Linked DNA regions of Homo sapiens: all the other regions are linked to region 1. The links are contacts of gene promoters, found by promoter capture Hi-C in blood cells and fetal thymus (Javierre and others, 2016). All regions are on one chromosome and are shown on one strand. Each heading gives the region's core, a stretch centred on a gene start or on the middle of the fragment in contact. The rest is flanking DNA. Distances are from core to core; before and after follow the strand shown.

Region 1 (3,379 bases), core at 259-2,758:
AATCACAAGTCTGGATATTGGTTTGTATGGAGTCAATACTCACTGCAAAGCACATTTCATTCAAACCACTCAGTTTTTTTTTTGTTTTTGTTTTTAAGACTGGGTCTTCAAATGGACAAAGGGTGTATTTTTCATATCTTCTTTCCCCATCCCCATTTTACTGATGCTAAAATTGGAGTTTAGGAGTCATTTGGGGCCAGGCACTGTAGCATAATTCTGGCGCTTTGGGAGGTCTAGGCAGGAGAATCGCTTGAGCCCAGGAATTCGAGGTTACAGTGAGCTATTATCACGCCACTGCATTCCAGCCAGGACGACAGAACAAGACTCTGTCTCTTAAAAAAAAATAAGAAAAGTCACCTCCTTATTTAATTTGGCCTTTGAGAACACTGGGGGATTTACAAAATAATTACATATATCCAGGTACTCATGGTCTATTTTTCATCATTACACGACAATCAAATGACCAAAACTAGGAGTGTGTGGACTGGCACGTGTTAAGGTTTTTAAGAGAGGTAAGATTGACAGGTGGAAGCAAAAGGTGTGCAGACAACAAGGTGACAGCTTTTCTCTTACAGAATCCCAGACTCAACAGCACATTTCCTGACGGGAAGGGCTTCTCTGTCTGGGAGAGGCCTCCACTTCATTCTCATAAGCCAAATCTGATCCTGGCTTTGGGTAAACCTGCTCTCAATTTAAGAGCAGGTTTCCTTTAGACAAGTAGATTAGGGGTCGCCTCTTCCTCGCCTCGGGATAAGGGCAAACAAGACGCCAGGCTTGGGCGTTGGGAGGACGGCGACAGCGACGCTGGGAACAGGGGTAGAATCCACGCCGTCCAGCGGCCCCCAGGCCTGTCAGCTCCTCACCCGCCCACCCACCCGCCCGCCTGCATTCTTCGGTCTAAACTTACCAGGTGGAAGCTACAACTCTAGACAGGAAGTAACTAACTGGGTTGGATCCGGTCGAGTTCCGCTGCGCTTCTTAGAGCCGCTGCTGGGAAGAGGCCGAAACCCAGTGGCCGCAGCAGTAGCCACCGCCTCTGTTACTAGGGGGTCTCGCCTCCATCGCTGGCTGCGAGGAGTCTGAGGGCACGTGACCGGAAGTAGCAAGGCGGGCCCTGGGCACGTGACTCAAGAGCGCGGCCGCCATGACACCTTCCGCTAGTTCCCTCCCTCCCCCACGGGTTCCCGCCTGTTTCGTTTCCTCTCTCCGGTCTCGAGCGGCGAAGGGTCCTGGGATCCTGGCTGGCCCAACCATTTGGCCTAGAGCTCCTCCGGTTCCAGTCGGCGCCGTGTCTCCAGCCCGCAACGGCCCTGCGGTCGCAGGCCGTAGAGAGCGTAATCGCGACCGCGGCCTGAGGGGGAGGGACCACGCGGAAGGAGGGGCGTGACTCGTCACGTGATGAGGAAGTGCCGTTAGTAGCGTTGTTTCCAGTCTGCGGCTCTCCTGGATGACGTCAGCAAGGAAGGGGAGGAACGCGAGGGGAGACTGAAGTTCACGTTCCGCTCTTAGTGCGCGGTGAGTTCCCCGGCGCTAAGCCGGGAGACAAGATCCGATCTACTGAGAGCTGCGAGGTACTGCCCTGGATGTGGTGGAGCTGGGCTGGGACCTCCGGGCTGCTGGTCTGTGAGCCTGGCTTTGAAAATTGGTTACTGGGTCTCCTCTCAAGAAATCTCAAGATATTAAAGTTACTGCTGTTAAAAAGGTAGTAGTTCCACTAGGCAAGGAGCTTTTTGTGGGTAGGGATTGTGTTTTGTTCATCCCTGTGTCTCTAGCGGTGTGTTCAGGTCCTGGAACATAGTAGGCACTCAGAATGTTGAATGAATGAATGTATAAATGAGTCAGTCGCCATTTGTCTGAGGCAGAGAGTTGTTTTCTGATCATTTCTTCTTGGATAGAAAGATCCCATTGTGAAAATGAGGCAGTCTGCAACTTCCCCTTCTCATTTCTTCAATTTTTGCTATCTTTCTTACTTCTTTCTCCTCTTCCTCCACGCACCTACTGGGGCAAAAGAGAAACATGTTTGCATTTGATGTGTGAGCAACAAACACTGAACTATTTTACGATAATGGAAAGATGAGATTTGGATTCAGGAGACGCGTATTCTAATCTCAGCTCTACCATTTATGAACTCTGTGATCCTTGGGCAAGCCAGTCTCCCAAAAGTTGTTTCATTTACTTTGGTTAAGCATTTGTCGCCAACTTCTATGTTCTTAGTTTTTGGTAGAGTGCCTTCACAGAAGTAACATTTAAACTCAGCTTTGCAGAAAGGTAGGGTTTTGGTAAATGGGGGAAGATTCCATAAACATCATATATTAAACCATGGAGGCACAGCAAGTTTATGGAATGAAAAAGAAAAAAAGAGTCGAGTCCAATGTAGTTGGAGAATAGAGAGGTTAAGATGGGAAATAAGGCTGGAAAAAGAAGCAGGGAGGAGATAACAGATTTTCAAGAAATAGAGCTGTTGAAGGCTTGTACAATATTATGTATATATTTTTTAAATTTTATTGTGGAAAATTTCAAACGCAGACAAAAGTAGGATAATAAATTGAACCCTCATGTACACTTAACGCAACTTGAACAATTATCAGCATTCTGCTGTTCCTCTTTATACTGTTTGTACATTTCTAGGTACTTTTTATATCCATTGTTGCATTTGATTAATAGCAGCTTTCAATTTGAGCTCAGTTCTACTGTATGTAGCTACTGGCTAAGAAGATTTTATTTATGTAAACAATTTCTTTGGGTTTTAGTTGACCACTTGCTCTGTTGAATCAATGTGTAACATGGCCACTTAAACACAACTAATACTGTTTTTAGGTTGTAATATAGAAACTTAGTGTCTAGATCCAGGAAGTTAGTGTTTCTACTCTATTCTGGGCTCATCTAACTACTTAAGGAGTATTATGCTCAGTTCTAGGCACCTCATTTTTAGGCAAACTACAGTGCCTCTGTAGAAGGTTGACTGGAACAGAGGGTTGGAAAATGTCATGTCAGGAGTGATGAAGAAACTGGGAATGTTAAATTTTTAGAAGACCTGATAATGCTTTTCAAATACAGAAGGATTGTTTTGGAAAGAGACAGCTTGTTCCCTTCAGCTGTAGAAGCTACATACAATTAGGAATAATGGTAGAGCTCTAAGTGATCAGGCTTCAGCATAGTATTAAAAAGAACCTTATAATAGTGAGCCCTTTGGAGGACTGGAATTGGCAGCTTCATGAGAGTGAGTGCTTTCTTTCCATGGCTGAAAATGTTCAGGGATCTAGGGCAAAACTAATTTCTGAATTAGGTGGACATGTTCACTGAATTACCTATGAATCTTTTTCCATCTTGAGAATTCTAGGAAGTAGGGCTCATGTGCGATCTTGAAAGCTGGGTATGT
Region 2 (3,379 bases), core at 635-3,134, 1.6 Mb after region 1:
TTCCTCCATTACATAATAGCTTCAAACATGTATTATTGATCTATATGACCACCCAGGATCCAGCACAGTAGTAGGTAGTCTGTAATTGTTGGGAAAATGAATGAATGTATTCCCATGTGCATAACAAAACAAAGAGCAGAATTTCATTTTAATGTGCTTAAAAAAAGAGAAAAAAAGCTTTCCTATTTCTTTTCAATTTAGTTTGTAGGAAGTCTGTTAGGACAATGTTAGGAAAATAAATTTACTTGCTTACAAAAACTAAGTATCTAGAGATCCCTGTATAAACTGCTAGGATAAAGAAAGGTTTTTACAATAGATATTTTCCTGGCACTTGTTTTATATAGTTGACCCTGAACACAGGATTAAACTGTGTGGATCCACTTATACTTGAATATACTTCTGCCTCTGCCACTCCCAGACAGTAAGACAATCCCTCCTTTTCAGCCCACTCAACATGAAAACTATGAAGATGAAGACCTTTATGATAATCCACTTCCAATTAATGAAGAGTCAATTATTTTCTCTTCCTTATAATTTTCTTGATAACATTTCCTTTTCTTTATTGTAAGAATACAGGATATAATACATTTAACACCCAAAATATGTGTTAACTGATAATTATGTTATCAGTAAGACTTCCAGTCAACAGTAGGCTATTAGTAGTTAAGTTGTTGGGGAGTCAAAAGTTATATGCAAACTTCTGACTGCCTGCAGAACCAGCACCCCTAACCCCCACATTGCTCAAGGGTCAACTGTACCTTCTATTAACGTTAACCAAACTGACAGGCATTTCAAAGTATCTTGAACATTTTTAAAATTAAGGTTTTCTTTCCCCCTGGTGTTCTACACATTCAGAGAAACTTCTCTATCTAGTAACAAACTATAGAAATAATCTCTGAAAGTGTAGTCTTAAAATTAAGTTTTTGATAAAGGATATTCCTCTGGTTACTACTTCAAGGGCTGGAGGGAGCTATAAAATATGACAGCCTTTTCACTTTGGCCAGAGGTTCCCACAAGATAACCTACCCAGAAGAAATATATTCTATCAAACCACTGGGCCAACATATGGCAAATCATAAACTTTGACATCTCTTTTCTCCTATACAGCCTCCTTGAACCAAATTTTTCTCTGTACAGTCTTCAAACTATACGGACAGAGAATCCTAGAAGTGGCTCAAAAATAATATAAATTTTATGTGCTTGGTTAGGCCACATGTATTTCCCAAAGCCAAAAGAAATCACACAGAACAGGAAAATGGAATCCAAGTATATTCAGTCCTTCTTACTTAGCATACATAAAAATGGCAATATTTTCACAGAAAAGGTAAAAATGCACACCATCTGATGCTTACCTTTCCTGCACCCATAAGTCTCAAGAACTTTTGTTTTCTCTCTTCATTACCCAAGTCTGCTGCCTCCCAATTGCTAGATCCCAGCTAGAAAAAAAATTGGTTGATTAAATTTTTTTTGCATAAAAATAAGTATTACGAAATCTAAAGTCTACCTGTAACTCTCAAGTTTTTTTCCCCTGTCAGTTGTAACTATAAACAGCGTTCATTTTTCTTGCTTAGGAAGTTAAGCATATTCATCACATTCAAATTTACTCCTTTTCTATTACCTCACAGCAGAATCCTTTAGTTCTCCTACAGCCAGAGCTGAGTCTCAAAAGTTTGCCTCTATCAGCGTCACCTAGAGGGCTTGTTAAAACAGACTGCAGGGCTACAGCCCCAGAGATTCAGCGGGTCTGGGGTGGAGCTCTAGGATTTGAATTTCAACAAATTCTTAAATGATTGCTGATGCTATTTATCTGGGGACCACACTTTGAGACCCACTGCCTCGCAGGGTAGGGTCCTAGAGCACCTAGTACTCTGAACTTAGATGGCAGCCACAGTTGTTAGTTGAAGTTAAAAATTCTGCCTTTATCAGTGAGCTAACTTTTAAGAGAGAAAATTTTAACTTTTCAGTTGCCTTTTTTTTTTTTTTTTTAGCAGTTCTAGTTACTTGTTAGGATTGAGATGTCATTACTTTTATTCTTTCTTAAAAGTCTTCCAAAGAACAAAGAGAAAACTTATTTTTTAAAAGAACAGACTAAAACTCATGCTATCTTGCAATTATCAAATGAGTCCACTGAACTCTTATAAATCTAAGAAATATGATGGAATCCTAGTGAGCGTATTTTTTCCCTACATTTTGAAACAAATGTAAAAACTGTTGTTTTTTAATAGTTTTTAATAGTTCATTATTTATAATTCATTATTTATAATTCATTATTCTCAACTATGCTAAAAATAACTAAATAGTTTTTAAGATATTAGTTTTCTCATTGTATTGTCCAAAGTATTTCATCATCATCTTTCAAGACATCATACCTGTTGTCTACTTTTAGCTTTCACTGAACACCGATGGGAATTCACAATTTTTCATTTTCCATTCATAATGGCAAAGAGAAAAAACTGACAGAAGGCATTAATCATTATTAGACGAAGAAGGTGAATGCAAAATGAAAGGCAGTCGTATTCTAGACTAATCATGATAAAATTAACTGCAAAAATCTCAGACTATGAGTTTTTGGATGAGGAAATATTAGAAGGCTTTTCTCCCACCCAAGAATTGACAAGAAAAAGAAAAAAAAGACAAACAAGAAATGTACTCTCACTGGGAGAGCCATCAGCAGGAAGGACTTCATCTTGCAATATTTCACAGTAAGAGCCAGGATCATCCCATTTTCTAAAAGGAGGTGTGAGTGTTTTATCTCATCTTTTACAATGTTTATGCATCAAAATTTACTTGATTTGGTTGCAAATGGACAAAGGGTGAAGGCAGATGTGTACACAAGGTGACTGGAAGGAAAATGAAATAAAAATATTCACCGAATTTATCATTCTAATTAAGTTTATAATCTAAAAATAAAAATGTTTTGCAATTATGGAGCAAGGATGACAATTACAAAATTGTAAGCAATAGGTTTCAAAAATTCCTCAAGTATTGTATTTTGATGATGCAAATCCGAGACAGGTTTGAACTTCAAGGGTCCCTTATAAGTGGATTTTTTTCAACCAAATGCAGATCCATCCCAAGTATATGGAAGGCTGATTTTTCCTATTCTCAGGTTCCACAGGGCTGGCTGCAGAACTTGAGTATGCAAGATTTGCCAAAGAGGTGGGTGGGTCCTGGAACCAATCCCCCACATTTAGCATACTGAAGGATGACTATATGTACATCAAAATCAGGAAAACAAAGAATATAAATTTCGGTTTGCTATTGTTAAATTCACATTAAAATTCCTAATAAAGTTGTTTTGCACTATCTCCCATTATTATTTCTAAAAATTATTTGTAAAAGACTAAAAGAATATTTAAAAAAACCACTATTTCCCCTG
Region 3 (3,379 bases), core at 604-3,103, 1.0 Mb after region 1:
AGTCTCTTTAAATGCCAAGATGTCAAATGTGTCTGCATTAAAGGAATAACAGCAAATTTACTAGGTTTACAGATTTTCATGAATGAGAAAATATACAAATATCCATATAGAAGAAAGAGATGAGTGATAAGGACAGGCAATAGGAAGAAGGAGAACTAACCTACTTTTCTTCCACTATCAGGTCAGTAAGAATGGCCTTCTCCTTTCCTTTATCACCCTCTTCTTTCATAAGAGAGATACGGACCTAAAGAGGAGACACTGGGCTGAACCAGGCTGAAACAGTAGACTCATCCAAACCAGGACAGGCTGATAATTTACTCTCTAAAGTAGGATGGTGTGAAATTCTAAATTATGTAGTCATCTCAAGACAGAATGGGAGGCACTGACCCCAAAGGCATCAGAGCCTCTGGTAAAATTACAAAGTAAGCAGAGTTCTTAAGCTTCTCTTAGTATTCAGTAGATATAATTTCCTTAAATTTTAAAGTCCTAAAAGAAAGCTAATCTCTCTTCCCCTGTCTCAACCAAGTCAAAATTTCTATTCTGCTGGGCACGGAGGTTCCTGCCTATAATCCCAGCACTTTGTGAGGACAAGGAGGGTGGATTCCTTGAGCCCAGGAGTTCAAGACCAGCCTGAGCAATATGGTGAAACCTCTGTCTCTACAAAAAATACAAAAATTAGTTGGGCATGGTGGCACATGCCTGTAGTCCCAGCTACTTGGTGGGGGATGAGGTGGGAAGATCACCTGAGCCCAGCAGGTTGAGGCTGCAGTGAGCCATGGTCACGCCACAGCACTCTAGCCAGGGTGACAGAGTGAGAACATGTCTCAAAAAATAAAATTTCCATTCATACACAGAGGCAGATTTCTTAGCTACTGATTTATACCCATAGTTATACAGATTAAGTTTGCTTTGTGTGTGTGTGTGTGTGTGTGTGTGTGTGTGTACGCACACGTGCGCGCATGTATGTGTGATGGTTTCCTGTTTTGATTGTTGGGCAAGATATCCTGGAAGTGGTTAAAAAAAATTACCATAGATAACCAGGGTGAAAAGTACAGAAAACTGAAAATTTTCTCTTTCCTTGGAAGTAGTCTCTGTTCCTCCTTTATATATCTTTTTTTTTTTTTTTTTTTTTTTGAGACGGAGTCTCACTCTGTCACCCAGGCTGGAGTGCAGTGGCGCGATCTTGGCTCACTGCAAACTCCGCCTCCCGGGTTCACACCATTCTCCTGCCTCAGCCTCCTGAGTAGCTGGGACTACAGGTGCCCGCCACCACGCCCAGCTAATTTTTTTTTTTTTTTTTTGAGACAGTGTCTCGCTCTGTTGCACAGGCTGGAGTGCAGTAGTGCAATCTCAGCTCACTGCAACCTCCGCCTCCTGGGTTTAAGCAATTCTCCTGCCTCAGCCTCCTAAGTAGCTGGGACTACAGGCGCATGCCACCATGCCTGGCTAATTTTTTGTGTTTTTTTTAGTAAAGACAGGGTTTCACCATGTTGTCCAGGCTGGTCTCGATCTCTTGACCTCGTGATCCGCCCGCCTCGGCCTCCCAAAGTGCTGGGATTATAGGCGTGAGCCACCTCACCCAGCCACGCCCGGCTAATTTTTTTGTATGTTTTTAGTAGAGACGGGGTTTCACCATGTTAGCCAGGATGGTCTTGATCTCCTGACCTTGTGATCTGCCCGCCTTGGCCTCCCAAAGTGCTGGGATTACAGGCATGAGCCACCGCGCCCAGCCTCTTTTATGTATCTTTTTCCATCTTCCTCAACCCTCTTCTTTTGCCCCTCTTCCTTTTCAATTAATGGCTGAATTGAAGCATGTTTCCTTTAACCTATTATAAGTATGTATGTATGTATGTATGTATGTATTGAGACTTTGTTTCTAAAAACAAAACTAAACTAATATTTATGTATTAAGTAATGACTATGGTACCAGATACTATGCTAGAAGACAAAGGTAAGCGAGATCGACATAGTCCTTACCCTCACAGGGCTTCAATCTAGTGAGGAAGGTAAGCTATTAAATACAATTGCAATTTTTAAAATGCTGCTTACAAAACAATGCATAGCATGATACTTTTCTGTTAATTAAAAAAAATTAAAAGTCATGAAAATGGTATTCACCAAACAGACATTCTCAGTCAGGTGATTTATAACGTTAAATGTCTCTTAAAAACTGGGTTGTTTTTATGGTCACAAGTCTCCTGATTATTTTGTTTGAGGTCAACAAGTCTAGATCAGAAAAAAGGAAACTGCAATACTAGCAGCAAAAGAACTACTGTACTTTGTGCCTATCTAATACAACCAAAAAATGTAAAAACTTTCAAAAATACAAATATACTGTGTAGAAATAAAATCTTAACTTACTGTCTCCCTTCTAAAAACTCTAAAAGATTGACTGAATCTTTAGAATCTTTCTCACTCCAATTTCCATTCCCTGAATTTCTTTTTCTCAAAGCTATTTATTTCAGTTTACTTTTGAAATAGAAATAATGACAATTGAACCATTTTGCAGGACAAGTATAGGGTATATTTATATAATATTCACAAAGAAAAGTCTGGAAGGGGCTGGGCACGGTGGCTCACTCCTGTAATCCCATCACTGTAGGGGGCTGAGGCAGGCAGATCACCTGAGGTCAGGAGTTCAAGACCACCCTGGCCAACATGGTGAGACCCCATCTCTACTAAAAATACAAAAATTAGTTGGGTGTGGTGGTGGATGCCTGTAGTCCCAGCTACTGAGGAGGCTGAGGCAGGAGAATCGCTTGAACATAGGAGGCAGAGGTTGCACTAAGCCATTGCACTCCAGCGTGGGTGAAAGAGTGAGACTCCGTCTCAACAAAAAAAATAAAAGTCTGGAAGGAAATAAAATATTGGTGTGGCTAAATAAGTTAAGCAAGAACTAGTAGTAAGAGAAAATTTCAAGACAACTAACAGTTAAGTGGTTAAAAAAAGAAGAAAGGAAAGAAAAAGAACAAACTACTTTTAGCTAGCAAGGAAGGCAAGTGTTCCTCATGTGACCATAGTGAAATGTATCTTGAGATGAATTATATTTACTTTCAATATAAATTTACTTCCTGATGATTAGTTATGTGATACCCTTGGGATAACTTATCTCTGTCATTTTAGTGCCTTGATTATAGCAAGTAGCTCAATAAATGTTAGCTCTTTTTAACACAACCATAAAATGTACAACAAACATCTATTGAGCATTTATGGGTAATTTTAAAAAATAACCAGAACAAATCCACAAATAAGACAGAAAAGCTTCTATAATGAATTAAGGGCTAAAAGTAAAAACAGAAACACAATTTATTACATGAAGATTATTTCCTTCTGTAGTTAATAGTCAGACTTATATCTCTGCCATGGCAAATTATAGAAG

Evidence for each region. Contacts are between HindIII fragments. The CHiCAGO score rates a contact against its expected background, and 5 or more counts as called.
Region 2: a contact is called between a fragment that was not itself captured here and the fragment with the promoter of HPS5 in region 1, in 1 of 17 cell types (fetal thymus). The highest score is 6.2, in fetal thymus.
Region 3: a contact is called between a fragment that was not itself captured here and the fragment with the promoter of HPS5 in region 1, in 1 of 17 cell types (naive CD4 T cells). The highest score is 5.7, in naive CD4 T cells.

What each region holds. Positions count from the first base shown.
Region 1 is chr11:18,320,269-18,323,647 of GRCh38, reverse strand. HPS5 (HPS5 biogenesis of lysosomal organelles complex 2 subunit 2) reads left to right here and starts at 1,508. Exons shown (of 23, transcript NM_181507.2): 1 at 1,508-1,702. It overlaps GTF2H1 (general transcription factor IIH subunit 1), which reads right to left and starts at 1,081. Exons shown (of 15, transcript NM_005316.4): 1 at 908-1,081. RefSeq lists enhancers at 1,104-1,523, 1,534-1,833, 724-1,923, 1,061-2,010. The HindIII fragment of the contact is 9,902 bases long and covers 1-3,379 here.
Region 2 is chr11:16,742,658-16,746,036 of GRCh38, reverse strand. It overlaps C11orf58 (chromosome 11 open reading frame 58), which reads right to left. Exons shown (of 5, transcript NM_014267.6): 2 at 1,353-1,436. Among named protein-coding and RNA genes, the nearest start is that of C11orf58, 5.7 kb to the right of the region's middle. The HindIII fragment of the contact is 3,409 bases long and covers 180-3,379 here.
Region 3 is chr11:17,283,499-17,286,877 of GRCh38, reverse strand. All of the region lies in intron 2 of NUCB2 (nucleobindin 2), which reads right to left. Among named protein-coding and RNA genes, the nearest start is that of NUCB2, 8.4 kb to the right of the region's middle. The HindIII fragment of the contact is 2,821 bases long and covers 443-3,263 here.